Linked DNA regions of Homo sapiens: region 1 is linked to region 2. The links are contacts of gene promoters, found by promoter capture Hi-C in blood cells and fetal thymus (Javierre and others, 2016). All regions are on one chromosome and are shown on one strand. The core of a region is centred on a gene start or on the middle of the fragment in contact, and the rest is flanking DNA. Distances in the headings are between cores, read along the strand shown. Region 1 has its middle 160 kb from the start of LINC02426. Region 2 holds the start of PPFIA2 (PPFI scaffold protein A2).

Region 1 (3,143 bases), core at 123-2,622, 360 kb before region 2:
TCAGTGATCCTATGTGTACAGTGTGATCAGTTTTGACACATTTATACACTCAGGTAACCTATACCACTATCAAGATACAGAGCATTTCCATCAACCAAGAACGTTTCCTCTTGTCCCTTCCCAGTGATTTTCCCCATCTGGCTTACTGATTTCTGATCAAACAGACACAATCAGAAATGATAAGAAGGATATTACCACTGACCCCACAGAAATACAAACAACCATCAGAGATTACTGTAAACACCTCTATGCACATAAACTAGAAAATCTGGAAGAAATGGATAATTTCCTGGACACAAAACATCCTCCCAAGACTGAACCAGGAAGAAACTAAATTCCTGAATACACCAATAATGAGTTCTGAAATTGAGGCAGTAATAAATAGCCTTCCAGTCAAAAAAAGCCCAGCACCAGACAGATTTACAGCTGAATTTTACCAGAGGTACAAAGAAGAGCTGGTACCATTTCTACTGAAACTATTCCAAAAATGGAAAAGGATGGACTCCTACCGAACTCATTTTATGAGGCCAGCATCATTCTGATACTAAAACCTGGCGGAGGTACAACAACAACAAAAAACTTCAGGCCAATCTTTAAGTCTTAAAGAGACTGCCAAGCAGTTTTCCAAAGTGGTACTATTTTTCATTTTCTTTTTTTTGTATTTATTTATTTATTTATTCATTTATTTTTTGAGACAGAGTCTCGCTCTGTCGCCCAGGCTGGAGGGCCGTGGCGATATCTCGGCTCACTGCAAGCTCCGCCTCCCGGGTTCACGCCATTCTCCTGCCTCAGCCTCCCGAGTAGCTGGGGCTACAGGCGCCCGCCACTACGCCCGGCTAATTTTTTGTATTTTTAGTAGAGACGGGGTTTCACCGTTTTAGCCGGGATGGTCTCGATCTCCTGACCTCGTGATCCGCCCGCCTCGGCCTCCCAAAGTGCTGGAATTAAACAGGCGTGGCCACCGCGCCCAGCCCTATTTTTCATTTCACCAGCAATGTTGGGGGGGTTCTGGTGGCTTTCCAACATTTGATATTGTTAATACCTTTAATTTTAACTGCATTAGTGGAAGTATACTGGTATCTTTAGTGGTTTTGATTTACATATAACTTATATCTAATAATGTTGAACACTTTCCATGTGTATTGGCCTTTTGTGTATGTTCTTGTCTGAAGTGTCTGCTCATATTTTTTGCCCATTTAAAAAATTAGAATTTTGTTCTTAATATTTTTTAAAGACAGACAATTCAATTTTTAAATGGTCAAAAAATATATATCTATATTCTGGATGTGAGTAATATGTCAAATAAAGGTATTAAAAAATTTTCCCCCAGTCTGTAATTCCTCTGCTTATTCTCTTAATGGATTTTAATAAGCAGAAGTTTTAAAATGTTGTTAGTGTTCAATTTACCAATTTTCCTTTATGGTTAGTGTGCTCTCTGTGTCTTTTAAAAAGGCACTTTTATTTTGAATTTTCTAACATACACAGTAAAATTAATTCTAGCTGATATACTGTTTCATGGTAACAAATTGTTTGAAAATCTGTCCATTTTTAGTTTAAAATAAATATTGGTGTTCTTTAAATCTTTCTTTGATTTTCTTAACATTTTAAGAAATCAATTGCTAAGTAATACATGTAAATTCAAATTTTAAGCGTATTTCATATCATTAAGCCTCATAAAATGTGTGTAGCATACTTAAATAACTAACCAATGGATTTTACTACTTGTATAACTACTTGAGTGCTATCTACATCATCAGTGTTTTAGAAATTTTCATGAATGATATACTTTATTTTATTGTTAGCCTTTCCCTATAATATAAATGCAAATAGATTTTCAATATTATACACTCCTTCATAATGGCAATGTGTGTGTATGCGTGTGTTTATGTATTTTGAGAACTCCACTGAAGAGGAGCTTTTCAAACAATTAATTTATTTTTTCATACAATGGTAAAAAAGGAAATCAGACTGTCTAAAATTATGTTCTTCAAATAAGAGAAGCAAGAAACTTGTGTTCATTTTAACATTATGCAGAAGAAATCTGTTTACATGCTAAAAATAGAAGGCATGGTATTTAGCCGGATAATGTTTTCCTTTGATTTAATATTCAACACTTGCATTTGTGCTGAAATGGGAAACACAACAGTTATTAGATCTAACCACCGAGTTTACCATTATGAATTAATTACAAGGTGACATCTATGGCTGATTCTTAAGAACACATATAAAAATCTTTTCCTTATGTCTCATTTTGCAATTTTTAAAAAATTTTAAATATATATTTTGATGGTGAATAGCTTATTTACACCAATTTTTTTCTGTTTTTTTTTTTTTTCTTTTGACCATTGTTTGTTAAACTTACCTGTTTTCTCTCTTTTGTTAAGTTCAAATCCTGGTTTCACTACATATGAGCTATGTGAATGTAAGCAATTACTTAGTATGTGGTATTGATATAATAATACTATATAACTTACAAAGTTATTGGGAAAGTTAATGAAATTATGCATGTAACTAGCTTAAAATAGAACCTAGGGCATTGGGTAAGCATTAAATAAACGTTAACTATTGTTACTAGTATTACATATGCATACATATATTTATAACATATCTATCAGTTATATTTATTTTATGGAAAAATTGATATGTATATAAAATATATAAATATGTGTACATGTATTTAGTGTGTGTGTGTGTGTGTGTGTGTGTGTGTGTATATATATATATATATATATATATATATATATATATATATATATATATGTAAATACAAGCATACCAAAGAGATGTTTTCGGTTTGGTTCCAGACCACCTGAACAAAACAAAGCATAAAAAACCAAAGTTTTTGGTTTTCCAGTACACGTAAAAGTTATGTTTACACTGTGTACTGTAGTTCATTAAGTGTGTGATAGGAAATGTCTAAAAAGTGTACATACCTTAGTTTAAAAATACACTATTGCTAAAAAAAAAAATGCTAACAATCACCTGAACCTTCATCGTGTTGCAACCCTTTTGCTAGTGGAGAGTCTTGCCTCCATGTTACTGGCTGCCGACTGAGCAGGGTGGTGCTGGCTGAAGGTTGGGGTGGTTGTGGTAATTTCTTAAAATAATACAATGAAGTTTGCCACATCAATTGACTCTTCCAT
Region 2 (3,263 bases), core at 488-2,987:
TGGGTTAGCCTTTAACTATGCTGTGTCAACTGTATGTGGGGATTATACTTACAATTAAAACTTGTATTTGACATACGAATGGGACTCAAGGAAATCAAAACTCTTCTTGGAAACAGTAGGAACATCTGAGCCAGTAATTAACAAACGTTGATTGCCAAGGAAATTCAAACCAAGGTTTAATAAGGAAGGAATTCTTGTAAAAATAGACATAATAGCTATATGTAAAAATAAGAATATCTCTCATGTATAAGGAATTTTTATGTTTTGTGTAGAATTCTAGAGAGTGAAAGTTATGAGTACTGATATATGATTAGTATGTTGAAGCTATTACAATATGAAGTTTGTCTGAAAATAGACTAGGCTATCCTGTGAGGTGAAGAGTTTCCTGTAGTTAGGGGTATTTAAGCCACATCAAATTGTGGGTCGATTGGGTGGTCTAGACCCTTCCTCCTCAAGTGTAGTACCATCTGGGAGTCATTAGAAGGGTAGAATTTCAGGTTTCACCCCATTCCTGGTGAATCAGTATCTACAACTTAACAAGATCCATGGATGATCTGTATGCACATTATGTCTGAGAAATAGTGCTCCAGTTGACATCTAATGAATTTTCGTATTATTTTTATACTTCTTATAGGATTGTGTTGTGTTGTAAAATTTAAATAACAGTCTAGAATAGAAGTTGGGTAAATACATGAGCTTTACCCCACTTTCCATTGTAAAGTCGCTAACTGAATTAAATACTTCCCTCAGAAACAAAGATTGTTTCTTGGATATTGTAGTTAATTTTAAGTGAACAGTTATTTACATACTAGTTCTTTGTTAACTTTGGACTCTTGGCGTTACACAAAAGTAAAACACGTCTTTTGGCTTTCGTGTAGCACACTCAGAATATTTTCAGTAACCCCCAAAATATATTCAGTGTTTAATCCTCCAATTCCTTCATGCATGTCCTCTTCATTTTCACCAAACCCAGCAGGATTCGTGACTCTCCCTCACAGAAACGTTCCCTTTCTGCTCAGAGTAGGTACTGATTTTGTCTCCTGCTTCCTCAGTCTGTATGAATGGACAGCAGCAACGGAAAGAAAAGAGGGTAGGTAAAGGGAGGTGGAGATATAAGGGGGACTGGAGCGCGATGGAGAGACCAGACTCTGCTCAAAGCTAAAATTTACTCGGGCAGGGAATACTTAACATACAATTCCCATTACCAAAACAATATGAATGAAGAAGAACTGAAGAGGTAATGAGAAATGACAGATGCCGCCACACCCTAGATTGGCTCAGGTCCCTACAACCATGACTACCATGCCCTGGCCCAGTGGGAAGAAAGCTGCTTAAAGAAATGACAAGCACAGAAGACCGGGGAGCCAAAAGGTGCCCAAGTCCGTTCCCATCCCCACCAGCGCAGGCTGACACAAGCGAAGGCTGTAGAGCCCATTGTGTGAAAGAAGCCCAGGCGGGGAAGCGTGTGCCCCCTTCCCACTTTGCCCATCCCTGGCCCTCGCCTTCGCAGGGGGCACTGGGAGCAGAGCGAGCCTCGGCAGCCCGGGAGCGGCTCTGGGGGAGACGAGTGTATCCGCGGGCGCGTGTGCGTGAGGAGGAGAGCAAAGACGTGATTACTTCAGAATTTATTTAAGGGCCGGTGGAAACCACTGCAGCAGCTTCCAGGGGAAGCCCTTGTTCCAGAGGAAGAGGAGGTGGTGGCTGCCAAGGAGGAGGAGGGGAGGAGACGGAGGAGGAGGAGTAGCAGCCACCGCACGAGGCAAGTGAGGAGAGAAGATGCTGTAGCGTCCTCACCGGCTGCCAGCAGGTTGGTTCTTCCGGCCAATTGAAGCAAGCAAAGAGGCTTGCAGAAAGGCCGGGAGGAGAAAAATGGGTGTGTGTGCTGTGGCGGCGGGGGGGCGGCGGGGGGGAGGGAAGGGGGGCCGGGGGACGGCGTGGGGTGATGTTTGCCTTTCCAGAGAAAAAGCGCCTCCTTTAAGTGAAACGAGACACGGGAGCGCGCGGAAACAGGCTGGGGGCCAGGAGGAGACCTGTCCTGCTTTTTGCATCCCTAGGGACTCGTTTTCCTTTAGGTTTCTAACTCCCAGGGTTAGCCTTAAACTCCAGAGGGGCTCCAGGAGGGGAGACTGGGTGGAGAACTTCTCTCCCAGATACTTCTCACGCCTTTTCTCCAAGCTTTCTTTTGGAGGGACGCCCCACACACCCCGGGTGGCCCGGGCGCGGAGGGGGAGCGGCGCCGCGTGGTTAAGTTTCTGAAAGTCAAACCCAGTCCCCGGTCTCCGGTCTCCGCCCCGGGGCTCCAGCTGCACGCGGGGAGCTGCGGCTGTTCTGGCAAAGGGGCCGCGGCTGCTTTAAGAGCCGCCTCCCCCTCTCCTCCTTTGACAATGGTCTGAACCGAGCTTTGCTTCCCAAAGCAAAATTTGTAATATGCCATTTTTCCGATGGACGCTTCTCCTTTTGGCTGCTGACGGAGCCACGGGAAGATGCCGAGCTCCTGCCACGCCACCGGGCCGGGGCACGTTCCGGGAGGGCGCCGGGGCACGCGTGTGTCTGAGCTGCCTTTCTCCTCCCGTTGCTAGGGAAATGGTCCAGGAGTGCTGGGTGTGAGCCTCCCTTCTCCTCAAGCCGGAGACTGCGGTTGTCATTGATCAATTGAAGAAGCAAGGACCCGAAATCACAGACATTAGGTACAGAAGCTGTCTTTGAGTTTTACTGTCTCCTTTCGCTGTATTTTTTGACCACCTCCCCGGCCCCACCCCGCCCCCAGGGAAGATGAGATGCAAATTCCTCCTTGTTGATTACCGTTAGGTGCCTTTTGCTTTCACCTCATCCTCTCCATCTCCTATCTCTCTACCTCCTGCCTACTTGGCTGTGTCCTGTTGGGCAGGATGAACAATTTTAGTGTGGAAATGATGAAGTCAACTTCTTCAAGGTGGTGGGGGGTGTGGCTGAGAGATAACTGTCCAGTAGTGTGGGTTGAGCTGGCTCTGGCTGTCCGTAAATGCACTAGGGTAAAGAAAGTGTAAAATGTGTCCATTAAAGGTGATAATCATATTTCCCGAGGACAGAGGCTTTCAAAGAGTTAAATAGGAGGGAGAATATTCATGTAATGTAATCAGACAATGGCTAGGATTTCTCTCACTGAATTACTCCTTGTAGGTTAACTGAGGTGGAGCTGGGATGGTTCTTAAGACTAAATGTTTTCAGAAGAAACTCACTATGGATAATAATTACATTCTTACCTCTAGTAGGGCCGAATTCCT

What was found. Contacts are between HindIII fragments. The CHiCAGO score rates a contact against its expected background, and 5 or more counts as called.
Region 1: a fragment that was not itself captured here is called in contact with the fragment with the promoter of PPFIA2 in region 2 in 1 of 17 cell types (neutrophils); the score reaches 6.3 in neutrophils.

Annotation. Positions count from the first base shown.
Region 1 is chr12:82,112,691-82,115,833 of GRCh38, reverse strand. No RefSeq gene overlaps it. Among named protein-coding and RNA genes, the nearest start is that of LINC02426, 160 kb to the right of the region's middle. The HindIII fragment of the contact is 9,705 bases long and covers 1-3,143 here.
Region 2 is chr12:81,757,824-81,761,086 of GRCh38, reverse strand. PPFIA2 (PPFI scaffold protein A2) reads left to right here and starts at 1,737. Exons shown (of 33, transcript NM_003625.5): 1 at 1,737-1,807; 2 at 2,580-2,687. RefSeq lists an enhancer at 1,939-2,877. The HindIII fragment of the contact is 5,625 bases long and covers 1-2,177 here.